Linked DNA regions of Homo sapiens: all the other regions are linked to region 1. Evidence: promoter capture Hi-C in human tissues and cell types (Jung and others, 2019). All regions are on one chromosome and are shown on one strand. Each heading gives the region's core, a stretch centred on a gene start or on the middle of the fragment in contact. The rest is flanking DNA. Distances are from core to core; before and after follow the strand shown.

Region 1 (4,383 bases), core at 609-3,108:
TTGTATGTGGTAACGAAATAATTCACTACAGCTGTTTGCAAATAATTTAATAATCAAGTCATAGCTATTTTCTACTTCTCAAAATGTGCCAAAGAACTATTGAAAACTCCACAATATAACATCATAATTATAACAATTAACATGTGTATTTAATAATAGCTTTAATAATCCTATGCATTATTTGCTCAAAAGATTCATGATACATTTAAATAATAGCGTTAGCTGGAATAAGAAAGTACCATATTTCACTCCTACTATTGTACACAGAGAATAAAATTCACCCACTCTTTTAAAAAAGATACTGCAAGGATTGTAATTTCAGAACAATTATTTTTACTCATTACCCCTAGAACATAGTATACACTCAGCAAATGTTGCTTGAAGGAATGAATGGATATGTGTGATTGGATGAGAAGCACACTCAGGGAAAATGCCTCGTCTCTGGTTGTTACAGGACTACTGCATGGACAACTGCTGTCACAGTAGGGTTTCTAAAATCTCCCTGCCATATTTTATTTTGGTTCATGTGTGTGTGACAATGATAAGGAATTCAGCCTAGCAAGTCTGTCTGCATTAAATAGAGGTGCTATGTATGCAAAAAGCAGGGACACCACATATAATATCTCTCAGGTACTTCCCAAGGTTTGCTTCCTCACGAGACTTGATATTGATTCTGGTGCCTCAAATCTATTTATATTTGGGAGCAGTCTCACTGTTACTCTTGGTTACACCTTATCAAATCTGTCCGAGGGACAGTGCCTAACCCAGGGTTGTCAGCTTTGGAACTGTAATTGTTTTTTTTTTTTTTTTTTTTTTTTTTTTTTTTAATATGCCAGCGGACGCTAGCCACGGTGCTGAAAGAGACAAGAGGATTCTATTTGAAACCTTTTCTTCCTCTTATTGGCTTAGAAAATTCGAGTGACAAGAGCAGGGGCCAAAGGAGCCTGGTGCAGCATCACTAATGTGAACCATGTATTTCGATCTTTTGGGCGGAGATGTGGTCCATCAGGTTACAGCCAATGCCTTCCTATGAGCGCTCGCTAGACCAAGAGACCTTATGAATGTAGTAGCCGCTGCAGTAGAAAAGGTTACATCTAGCAGGATGTCTTATCCCTCTCCTGAAAAATTGACAGTTAAGTGCATAGCCTAGAAACAAGAGCAGGGAATCTAGACGGAGGGGAGGCGAAGGGGGGAGCAAACCTGTATTCATATTGAAAATGTTCACTATTTTCGTATAAAGTAAAGAAAAATCAAGAGCTAATTTTAGGTTAAGTTTTCGGCCTCAGTTTTCCAACAGGTGCACGACTCCCTCACCCCTTCCCTGTCAGGTACTGTCCTGTTTTACCTTTTTAGAAAGGCTTTCTTCGCAAGGCAAGCTTTTCCTAGAGTCCTTAAGCATGTGCAGTTTCCCATCTCATGCACAGCTCCGGCTCTAAGCCTGGCAACCCCTTACCTGCAGCGTGAAGATTAAGGAGCAGGCACAGCGCAGGGAAGCAGACTGCTCTCCGCATAGTGTTTGCATTGAGAGGTGGAGGAGAAACTCCACCACGACCCCACTTCAGGTAAAGTGCTATTAGAAAGAGCCACCGCCAAGGGTCTTCTAGTCTCCGGGATTCAGGTCCTCGGCTGGGGTTTGCAGAGCAGTCAGTCTGTGGCGCCGACAGAAACCAGCACCAGCTTCAACCTCCCTAAGAGAGGGAGAGAGGAAGAGCAGTAGGAGGTTGCGGGTAAGGGGAACAGAAGCGCTCAGAGGCGGCAAATGCCTGGCCTTCTGGACGCCCAGAAGCCAAGGCGGAGACGGCAGGGTGGACTCCGCGCCAGCCCAGCAGCCCAGCAGCAGCGCCGCGGCTACTGAGCATGCCCAGCGCCGGCCCTCACGAGGCAAGGGAATTTCAAAGTGAAATTCCGCTTCTCCGGGTCTTAGCGGCGGCTTGGAGCAGAGTAGGCTCCATCGCTGGGGTGGTGGTTGGGGGTGGGGGTGGGGGTGGGGAAGGGGGAAGTGCGGGGGAGACACTTGCTGTGGTTACTAGGGACCCAGCGTCCATCACAAATCCGAAGGTGGGGTGTAGCTGAGTGAGAGTAGATGGGGGCACGACCACAGGAGTCAGAGGAGGGAGCTGATGACATTGTCAACCATGCCACCCACCCTACTCTTTCCCCAAATCTTGATTTACACGTGGACCGAGCTCACTGCTGGGAATTGGCATTTGCAGATTGACCAGCTTCCCAGGACTCGCCTACAGGAATAGAGGTGTCTTCCACTGCTGAGCATTCTGGCTGCTCGGGGGAAGCGTTCCCAAGGCAGCTTGCTTGGTGTAAGCAGTAACCATGTATCTTGGGGGTGACTTCGTCCTTCCTACAGCTTCCCCCTCTTTGCTTCTCTTTCCACTCTTTCCAGCTCAATGACTGTATTTAAACTTTCTTCTGACTCAAGTCCTCACAGTGACAGAAAGAAGTGAGAAGATACTTTTAGACTAGTAGAATATATCCATGTAATTGAAGCACAAGAAGGCACCTTTTTGTTTCGTGGAGGTAATTAACTTTAGTTTCCCTTTTACTCTTTAAGGTGAAAGATAATGGATCACGTCAGTGCCTGGACTCATCCGGCCCAGCTCTGTGTCTCTAGGGAGGCTACCACAGTCTGCCATTAGATGGTTTTTTATCCCTCCATCTAAGTCTTTGGAGTGTGGAAAGCCTTATTAGTCATGGCTAATTGCTGCTAGTCAAGTCAAGAAGTCCCTCAGCTAGACTTCTCTTTTAACTATCCCAGGGCCTCTGCCCTTTCTGCCTCTGTGTCTTTATGGACACTGTTGCCTCTTTCCCATTTTCCTCCACTTGCACCACCACCACACTAGTTTTCGAAGGTGTAATGTTGGTCTCACTTTTCCAGAAAGCCCTAACTCTAACTAACTCTAGATTACAGTGATCTTTCTCTTCCACAACACTTGTTTAGCCGTGCCTCATATTATTCTTTCAGACAGTTCATTTATCTGTGGTTTGTTCTACAGCACATTGAAGTCTCCATAAGAACTGCTGAGTTTTGTATTCCATTAACTTGAATAAAGTTGTCCTAGCCAAATAATTGGGGCTAACAAGTGCCCATTGAGTTGAGCTGCACATCTCATTCAGTGCTTTCTTTCTCCATCCTCTGTGAATTGAGACAACTAATGGGAAATAGGCTATCCACCAGAGCTTAAATTAGGTGGGACCTTATAAGATCAGAGAGCCCAGGCGGTACCATTTATTTCTTTTATGATTTATGTCATCTTCAGCTCTGAGAGACAAGGCCAGGAAGCACTCCAACAAGTGGGAGAAGGGGACAATGAGATGTACTTTTAATATCTTGACAGGCCTTCTCTGCTGAAAATAGAGACATATCTCCATGTCTAGCCCCTCTCTAGCAACGTGCTCCACCCCCTACTCCCCCATGCGTGTGGCACACTCCATTTCTGTGGCACTATCATTTCATCCCAAACCACTCTAAGCTGCAACCTCTTCTCCTATTCCTGATTCACTGTCCTCCAGTTTGCTTTTCCCGTATCACTTTCTAACAAACCAAAATAATTACTTATAAAATCTATTGTTTAGTATCTATTTCCCTACTCCCCCCCGCAAAACAGAATTTGAGCTCCAATGTTGAAGAACTTTGATGACTTTATTGATATGTCCCAACTCCCTAGAGCAATGCCTCATGCAAAATAGATACTCAAAAATGAATAAATGAAAATGATAGTTGACAAAGTTCAATACTGACAATTAACTCTTTGAAATTCTTACTGAGTCAACCTTTGAGATAATTTATTTAGCATTCTGTAAAGCTTAGAAGAATAACTCTTCTCATCTAACATCTGTTACTAGAAATGCTGCAGGGCTGGAGGTTAGGGAAAAATAATTGTATCCCACTTACAATAGGTCTATTTTTCTTATTTTCTTGTTTCCTAAAATAACTAATTATCAAACTTACATAGATCTCCAAGAATAAAATATACTTACTTATGGTAATGAAACAATGCTGCAGTAATGTTCTGAACCCCTTCCTTTTCCACAGATAATTCCAACATTTATTGGTGGGGCATTTAAAATTCCCATTATTATAATTGACTATGACTTTGCCAAAAAGCATCCTGCTGGCAATGTATTTTGTTCAGGGCTGCAGGTAGCTGAATTGTTAAACTATGCATGAAAATTCCGTTAGCAGCAAAAATTTCCAATTTCCAATTTGGCTGGATATATCATTAGAATAGTTAGTTCAGCATGGTAAAAATAACCCTGAGTGGGCTGTAATTTTGGTGACTAGACATTCATTATTAATTTACTTAGAAATGATAAAGTAACGAAAAAGGTCATATTCCTATGTGAGTCAATCTAATATCATACTTGTAA
Region 2 (4,383 bases), core at 1,244-3,743, 61 kb after region 1:
TTCTGAAAATCAATAAGAAAAATAAGATTAAACATTATAATGGAGGAAAAACATGAACAGGCATAACACCAAATAGAAAAATCCTAATGACCAACAAACATATGACAAAATGTCAAACTTTAATAACTTTCTGGAAAACAGTAAGTTGAAACTAAAAGAAGATACCAACTACTGCACATATTCCCCAGACTGAAAAAACATTTAAAAGTCTGAGAGAATAACAAGTACCAAGCATTTTAAAAACTATGGAGTAAAAGGAATTATCATTTATGATTGGCAGATATATAAATTGATAAAACTGTTTTTAAAAAACTGGGAACATCACCTATTAAATTGAAACATACACATATCCCACAGCCCAGAAATTCTACTCCTGGGCATATACTCTAGAGAAATGTAATTATATGTGTGTCAGAAGAATGTACAAGAATATTTATACAGCATTGACTTGTAATAGCAACAAACTAGAAATAATCCAAATAGCCATCAACAGTGGAGTGGATAAATAAACATGGTAAGATTTCAAACAAATGAATAAAATAAAGCAATAAAAATGTGAAATTGGAGCAATATATAATAACAGAGGTGGAATTAACCAATATAATATCAAGTGAAAGAAGAAATCCTCAAAAGAATAGGCAATGAATACATAGGGATGGGGCTTCAGGGATGCTGTCAGTATTTATGTCTAATCTCATTTAGTCATTGTACTAAAGCTCACTTCATAATAATCAAGTATTCTGTACATTTAAATGTATTTTTCTGTGCATATGCTGTATTATACATGTGCCAAAATGTTTACACACATTTTTAAAAGAAAATAATGTACATTATATGTTTATGAAAGCACATACAGGCAATAACAGTGCTAACCTTCAGAGGTTAAACTTAGAGATGCATAACAAATATAATTGTGTCTGATAATGTATATCTTCAGCTATTTGTCATAATCTTCACTGATTTTTTTGAGCAGTGAACTTCTATGTCATGATGTAAATGACAATAAACTCAGCACAAAATGCAAGTTTTATTTCTTTAAGAAATTAACTTATTAATAAATATGCTAATACATAAGCATATATGCTTATATAATAATGGTTAATTTGTTCTTATTAACTCATACTTAATAATATAATTTAATAAAGACAAATTAACCATTAGGAAAAGGATGCTTTTTATAACTCAATTAAAAATAAGATGAATCCTATTAGTCTGAAAGAGACCACTATGTAATATTAGCCATGTATTCTGGAATATGTTGTATTTTGTTGGCACAAAATGAGTAGGAATGTAACTAAAGAGACATCTTTACAGGTCTATCCAGCCAAAAGCAAGTGTTTTTTTTTCTCAGAATTGAGTGAAATAGTTCTCTATATGTATTGAGATGTGCTTCTTTGTAGTTCAGGTATGCTTTTTGAGAAAGATCAGAAATACTCCCAAGAGAGCATGAACTTCAGAATCATGTAGAGATGGGACTCTGGGCAAGTTATTTCAGTTTTCTGAGCCTCAGTTTCCTTATTGTTAAAAAAGGAGATAAGATTAGGGAACGCTCAGGTTTGCTATGGTTATTTACACTGAGGAAATAAGATATGGCATATGATACACACATACTAAATGCTAGAAACTCGCTTTCCAGTTAGGGTCTTTTACAACCTTGTGACTCCATATCTAATATAAACGTAAAATCTTTGGTTTAGAATTTAATACATTCATGTTATACAAAATTCTTGCACCCAACCTCACTTTAGAAATTCTAGAAATAAGGAATAATATTAAAAATAAACTCATAATGTTACAGTCAGGCATTTTTACAAATAAGTATGTGTATTACAAACTTCAGTTTGAATCAAATTTAATGCATATATTGATTACCTTATACAAGCCATTTAGGAAGATGTCAAAAATATAACTTGAGGAAAATCTGATGATCTTCAACTCTATTTCAGGGCCAGGAGTAATGAGTTGTAAAAAACAAAACACAAAACAAAAACTGTACTTAAAATCATACAAAGTGGTTTCTATTCTTATGAATTTCACTAATCAGCTATGTGACCTTATACAGTTCATGTATCTTCTTTGAGTATGAGATTTCTTTACTCTAAAATGTGGCTAAATGCTTGCTTTGCTTTAAAACAAAAAACAAAACATTTTTTATAAGAATTTAATGAGAAAAAAGTGAAAATAGCATTTGATTAGGAATCTAAAGATCTTTGGTTTAATGAAAAAAATGAAAAAGACATTTGGTAATTTTGGACAAAAATAAAAGGAGTGTATCTACTTTAAATATTCAATGAATCTCCTTCAGAAAAAAAATTTCTAAAACACTGGAAGGGTAAAAACAAATAAACGTTTCAAAAACACTATGCTGTTTAGAGCTTGGTTTGCTTCATCATTTTCTCCCTGAAGTTTTTATTCTCCCCCACATAGACAAGAGTCAGGAGGGCACTCTTTAGGGGATAACAGCAAACCTTCCACATTGCAAGGCAGAAACCCAAGCCTGGCCCTGAGCAGATCATGAAGTCTCTCTAAACCTTGGTATTACATCTACAAAATCAAATGGTTAGGATACAATTCCTCCAAAGTTCTTTCTAACTCAAACTCTCTATGATTGCATTTGAGGAAGAGCTTCAATCATGGGACAATGACTGTCACTTTATATTAGCATAATAAAATCTCCTTGTGAACCAGATTTAGGATAAAATAAGAGTGAAACAGAACTTGAAATATTCGACAAACTTAATCAGAATTAGCAATTTTAATGCTTGCAAGTCCACAAAACATCTGTGCAAAGCTTTTCTCTAAATGAAACAGTCTACGTGAAAGCCCTTTGGAAGGCATAATATGCTATACAAATGTGAAGTATTATGAACATCATCATCTCCTTCAGTTGAGCCCATAGACTTGGCATAAGCAGCCCATACATTTCAGCTGTAACCAATCACCCTGGGTGGGCATGGCGGGGCGGGAGGAAGAGAAAAGGGAAAGTGGATTTGTTTCTCCTGCTTTGTAGTTTCTCCTTATTCTCTGAGCCTGTATGTCTGTGACATAGTATAAGCAGGTTTTTCTTGTTTATTTTTGCAAGCATTAAGAGGTGATTACTTTCTAATAGATAGACAAATAGCTAATCAAGTCTTTTTATGTGTTTAGTTTTAGGGAATAATCACTTTAAATTTGCATTTCTTTATTTGAGAGATTTTTAGACAAAGCAGGTGGTATGGTACATATTTTACCATCGTATCCAATATTTTCCATATGCTAGCTTATTTCTTTTCTAAAATAAACTGTAATTTGTATAAAATCCTTCTAATTGGTAAGTGCTTTAAAACAAGAATTGCTAGTTATGAGTCACTGCAATGATGTTAGACTGCGTGGGAGTTTTATCTGCATTTGGCCATAAGAGAAACTGAGGAGTTGACACAAAGAGCAATAACTAGACCTCCCAGCCAGTCTGCAGAATGCCAAATATTTGGAAAATAATAATGGTAGAATTATAATTTGGGAGATGCCTGAGAATGAACAAGCCTCTCTGCATAGATACCTAATCCCCAGCAAGTAAATTTGTGCTGTCTTAAAATCATATAACCTGGCTTAATGGCTTATTAGATGTTGCTTTTTAAATTGAATGTTGAATTGCATGAAGCTTTTAGAAAATAATTGTGAACAATTACAAATTAGGTTAAGAAGAAAAGGCAGGCCTAGCACTTGCTTAAAATTGTATTTTCATCAGATTTTATCTTTCTCATAAGAAGATAATTGCGTAAACATTGCATCTTGGCCTGGGGATTGAGGATGAGAGTGGCGACTGGAGAGAATCTTGCCTTTACGTTTTTCTTCTCCAATTTCCAGTCTTGGATAAGCCATTAGTCAAACTCCCTCATCGTAAGGGAATGATAATGTCAATATCAAAACTTCCAGAGCTGTTGATTTCCCCAAAGGCTTACCAAAATTAACTGCTCATCTCAGCTTGGGGTAGAGGATTTGGAGCTTGAAATACAAGTCTTTCTCAAACTTCAGCATTTCCCATGTATCCTCTGATAATTATAAAAGGAAGTCAACCAGTGCCGTTGGAATGCACATGATGTCAGTTGTTAAGTGATTAACAGTAATGTTTAGAGCTTCTGTGGCCTGGAGAGCTTTTAATGGCATTACGTAGCAAGTGCCATAGTATTACCCAGAAGGTGAAAGGAAGATCAAATTGGTGAGTAGGAGAATGAGGGCTGTTTCAATTTAAACTACAGCCAGAGAAACTCCTTTCTGCAATAAGAAACCCAATCCTTCACAAAGGCATGGAAGAGGAGAAAAGTTAACAACCAGTTATACTGTGGGCAGGGAATTTGTAGCACAAAGCATTACACAGTGATTCCCTGAGTAAACAAAAGAAAC
Region 3 (4,383 bases), core at 1,374-3,873, 36 kb before region 1:
TCCTGTGTCTGGACCACTGAATCCCCTACATCAACATCTTTCTTTCCAAACTCCAAGAAGCAAATTGAAATCTAATCCTGCGCAAGAGAAAGTGAAGAGATCTCCAAATCTAGAAGCTTTGTCATTAAATATTTACACTGGCTTAGCCCTGGAGGTATTTCCTTTTGGAACTATTCCTTTACTTGTTATTGCTGATTCCAAGATTCTTTGCACCCCATCACTAGCTATGATAGATAGGAGGAGTGATGGTCAGAATCTGTATCCTAAGTCACTACCGTGACTGCTGCCCACCCCCTGGCTTCCCAGAGGATATAGAACACCAAGAACACTCTAGACTAAAACATCACCAGGAGACCCACCCTTATCATACTAAACACTTTGGAGAAAAGTGAAAAACAAGAAATAAGAGTCAAGGAGGCCAGTCCGGCAAGACGCAAGAGTTTGCCTCTGTGTTTACATTTATTTATAAAAACTTTATTCTCCCATAGTGACTGGGAATATGATGATTGAGTAAGACCCATTTTTTTTTTAATTTGCCAAAATCTTCATCTGAAACCTATTGCTGGTCTTCCTTGACAGACATTTTCTAATGTTTAGGCTTATATTACTTGTTGCCAACACTGATCCAAAGAGGCTTCATATCCTCAAGTGTTTGTAAGCTCCAGATCCTCATCTATTCCGCTACTGGTTTGAGTCCCAGTTATATTAACGAGTTACTTTGATGTATACTTTGCCTATAAAATAGCAATAACATTTCTCTTCCTATAGTTACTATTTATTGAGTGTTCACTATTCACTAGGTGACATGTAAGAGTATTCAATGTGTTTTATCATTTAATCTATACACCTCTATGAAGTTGGTAATTTTAATCCTCCCATTTAAAAGATAATGAAGGCTGGGCAAAGTGACTCATGCCTGTAATCCCAGCACTTTGGGAGTCTGAGGCTGGTAGCAGGAGTTTAAGACCAGCCTGGCCAACATAGTGAAACCCTGTTTCTACTAAAAATACAAAAATTAGCTGAACCTGGTGGCAGGTGCCTGTAAACCCAGCTACGGGGGAGGCTGAGGCAGGAGAATCGCTTGAACCCAGAAGGTGAAGGTTGCAGTGAGCTGAGATCTCACCATTGCACTCCAGCCTGGGTGACAAGAACAAAACTCCATCTCAAAAAACAACAATAAAAAAGATAATGAAACACAGACTTAAGTCACATAAAAATTAGAGGGGAAACAGCAAGGATTTGAGCCACTGTATTATGCTATGGCTATTTTTGAATTACTTCCAATGTTTTCCCCAGTCTTACCACTTCTCTGGTAAGCCGAATGATTACCTAAGTGTGCATAATATCTTAACAATAACAATATCTTCACACAGCTTAAGCTAGGACCTTGGCTTATTTTGATAATTTCTCCACATTCCCCCCTAGTTCTCTCCTTTAACCTGCAGATAATTTCTTTCTTTTTGGTGCAAGTATTTAAGAACTGTTGTGTGCCAAGGACTATACTAAGTTAAATGAAAAGCTTCGTGCTTTTCATTTTTTGAGTTTTTTTAAATGTCAGTAGAAACCGTGTTACTTTATTAAAATACTGAGTTTTATTTCACATGTCTTAATAATGTCACAGCCAGATCTGGGGTCTTATACCCTCCCAGGAAAAAAAATGAAAGGATTAGTTAGGAAGCAGACTTTGATTGTCATGAAAATCTAATATTTGGCTGAAATCTTTTGAGTGGTCAAGATTGCCAGAAGAATTTATACAATGAAGCTCCTACATTTCCATCTGTTCCTTCTCTGTGTTGGTCCTCTTTCCACTTCTGCCACAGTAATAGCTTATTCTATTCTATTGTTTCCCTCTGTCTGCATTCTCTCACCCACTCAAACAGTGTTAACAGCCATGCATGGGTCTGTGGATATCTCCCAGGTCTAAAGCTTTGGCTGTGACCTGTCTGAACTCTAGACTCACATTCCAATTGTAGACTAGCACTGGGAGTTAAGCTTCTTAACTTTGCCCAGGGAGAGAACCTTCTAGGGACTTTTAGCTTTTGTATTTTTCCTAAAAAAAGAGAAAGAAACACGTTGCTTCTACCACCTGAGTCATAGGGATCACAGTGAGAAACCTAAGCATTTTGCTAAGTGGTGCCAATCCCATCACTCAGGAGCAGGGCCAAATGCCCCGAAAGCCCAGTATAATCATCCATTAGCAGTGAGATTTTTAACTGAACTATTGAATAGTAACAAGATAGTAAGCATGATTTACAGGCACTTATGATTACAGATAAATAGACAAAGAAGGAAAGAAAGAAAAGGGGACAAAGTCATTAACAAAAGGCATACGGGAGAACAGTTCTTAACAACTGGAAAACCAAAGGCAATTTTAGAGAGAACTGAAAGCTCCAAGTAAATATTTGCTCCAGAGAAAAGATACTATTTTTGTTTATCTGCAGATCCCCCTTTTTGACATTATTGTGGAAATTTTGGATTAAAAATTTTTTTGCCAGGCGCGGTGGCTCACGCCTGTAATCCCAGCACTTTGGAAGGCCGAGGCGGGCGGATCACGAGGTCAGTAAATCGAGACCATCCTGGCTAACACGGTGAAACCCCGTCTCTACTAAAAAATACAAAAAAAAAATTACCCGGGCGTAGTGGCGGGCGCCTGTAGTCCCAGCTACTCCGGAGGCTGAGGCCAGGGAATGGCGTGAACCTGAGAGGCGGAGCTTGCAGTGAGCCGAGATCGTGCCACTGCACTCCAGTCTGGGCAACAGAGCAAAACTCTGTCTCAAAAAAAAAAAAAAAAAAAAAAAAAGTTTTGCAGGCTCCAACATAAAGAGGAACAGCACTGTCCTTCTTCCTCAAAGATAAGTTCTGAAATAGAATGTTTTGTATCTTCTAATCAGAACATTCTCTTTTTTTGTTCTGTTTACTCCTTTGGCTATTTTAAATATTTCACTTTACTTAAGATTTAAGGTCTAAGATCTTTGAAACGTACATAATTTGCCCAAATGAAAAAAATTAGATCCTATATTACAATTATATGAAGAATTTATAAAGAAAGTAGCTTTCCCTGAGATAAGCTCACCAAATTCTCTCAGTAATATTAATTGGGCAGTTGCTTAGAAAATAATACTATATTAGATATTGTCATCATTTATTTCTCCTTCTCAGGATGAGTGGCCTTAAATCAGTGACTGTATTGGGAATATAAGTCAATATATAAAATGTGAAAGCTACTATACAATGAAATTTTTAGCAGCTGTTAAAAGTGATGCTGTACAATGATACTTAACGACTTGGAAAGCCATCCATAATGTAAACATAAAACTAAAAAATTACAAAGCACATATATGCAGATTTCATACTTTTGTAAAAAATACATGCATACCTGTACATAGAAAAGAATATATAGAGAGAGCAAGATTACCTTAGTTATTTAACAGTTAAGGATTTTTTTTTTTTTTTTTTGAGACGGAGTCTTGCTCTGTTGCCCAGGCTGGAGTGCAGTGGCACAATCTCAGCTCACTGCAAGCTCTGCCTCCTGGGTTCATGCCATTCTCCTGCCTCAGCCTCCCGAGTAGCTGGGACTATAGGCGCCCACCACCATGCCCGGCTAATTTTTTGTATTTTTAGTAGAGATGGGGTTTCACCGTTAGCCAGGATGATCTCGATCTACTGACCACGTGATCCACCAGCCTTGGCCTCCCAAAGTGTTGGAATTACACGCTGAGCCACCACGCCTGGCTGGTTATGGATGGTTTTTATTTCCGCTTTTCCTTATCTAAACTTTCTAAATATTCTACAACTGTATGAAAATGCATAATTTTTGGAATTAGAACAAAAATATTACTAAGTTATTCCCTGCTCATTCACTGCACCTGGAGAGCAAGGCCTAATGACAATCAATTAAACCAGCTCTCTTAAGACTTGAGTCATCCTAATAGTGAATGTGTATGATCCCAAACAAGCAGATGCACTGAGTGGTCCAGGGTTGTAACCTCACACAGACATTGCTGAGGCTTAGCCTCTAGCTTTTCCAGAGTGCATTCCAGCATCGTCCTTGCTGCTTTAATAGCTAGAAATGGTGAAAAGCAACAGATGGTGACAGTTATGACTGTCAGGATGCCAAGCTCAAGAACGGAATTTCTACTTCAGGACTATTTTGCAAGGATACAGTAATAGCTGGGGAAATCTGAGCATAAAGCTTTCTGCAATGCTAGTCTGGCGATTATATAAGAAGGTGATTATATAAGAAGATCTTATAATTTAATAGGAAGCATTAACATTAAGTTAAGAGCAGAACAAAAGTTCAACCAAACTTCTGGAGTAGATCATTGAATTTCTTTTTCTAGGCTTTCTTAAAAATAAAATCTAACTGAAAGCTGTATTTTATTT

Evidence for each region. Contacts are between HindIII fragments. The study calls those that stand out against the background at their distance.
Region 2: a contact is called between a fragment that was not itself captured here and the fragment with the promoter of PTPRR in region 1, in 2 of the 25 tissues and cell types used here (dorsolateral prefrontal cortex and hippocampus).
Region 3: a contact is called between a fragment that was not itself captured here and the fragment with the promoter of PTPRR in region 1, in 2 of the 25 tissues and cell types used here (hippocampus and spleen).

What each region holds. Positions count from the first base shown.
Region 1 is chr12:70,918,880-70,923,262 of GRCh38, forward strand. PTPRR (protein tyrosine phosphatase receptor type R) reads right to left here and starts at 1,859. Exons shown (of 14, transcript NM_002849.4): 1 at 1,454-1,859. The coding sequence starts at 1,511. The HindIII fragment of the contact is 3,890 bases long and covers 311-4,200 here.
Region 2 is chr12:70,979,090-70,983,472 of GRCh38, forward strand. No RefSeq gene overlaps it. Among named protein-coding and RNA genes, the nearest start is that of PTPRR, 61 kb to the left of the region's middle. The HindIII fragment of the contact is 3,125 bases long and covers 932-4,056 here.
Region 3 is chr12:70,882,097-70,886,479 of GRCh38, forward strand. The region is part of intron 2 of PTPRR (protein tyrosine phosphatase receptor type R); the gene reads right to left. Among named protein-coding and RNA genes, the nearest start is that of PTPRR, 36 kb to the right of the region's middle. The HindIII fragment of the contact is 3,613 bases long and covers 818-4,383 here.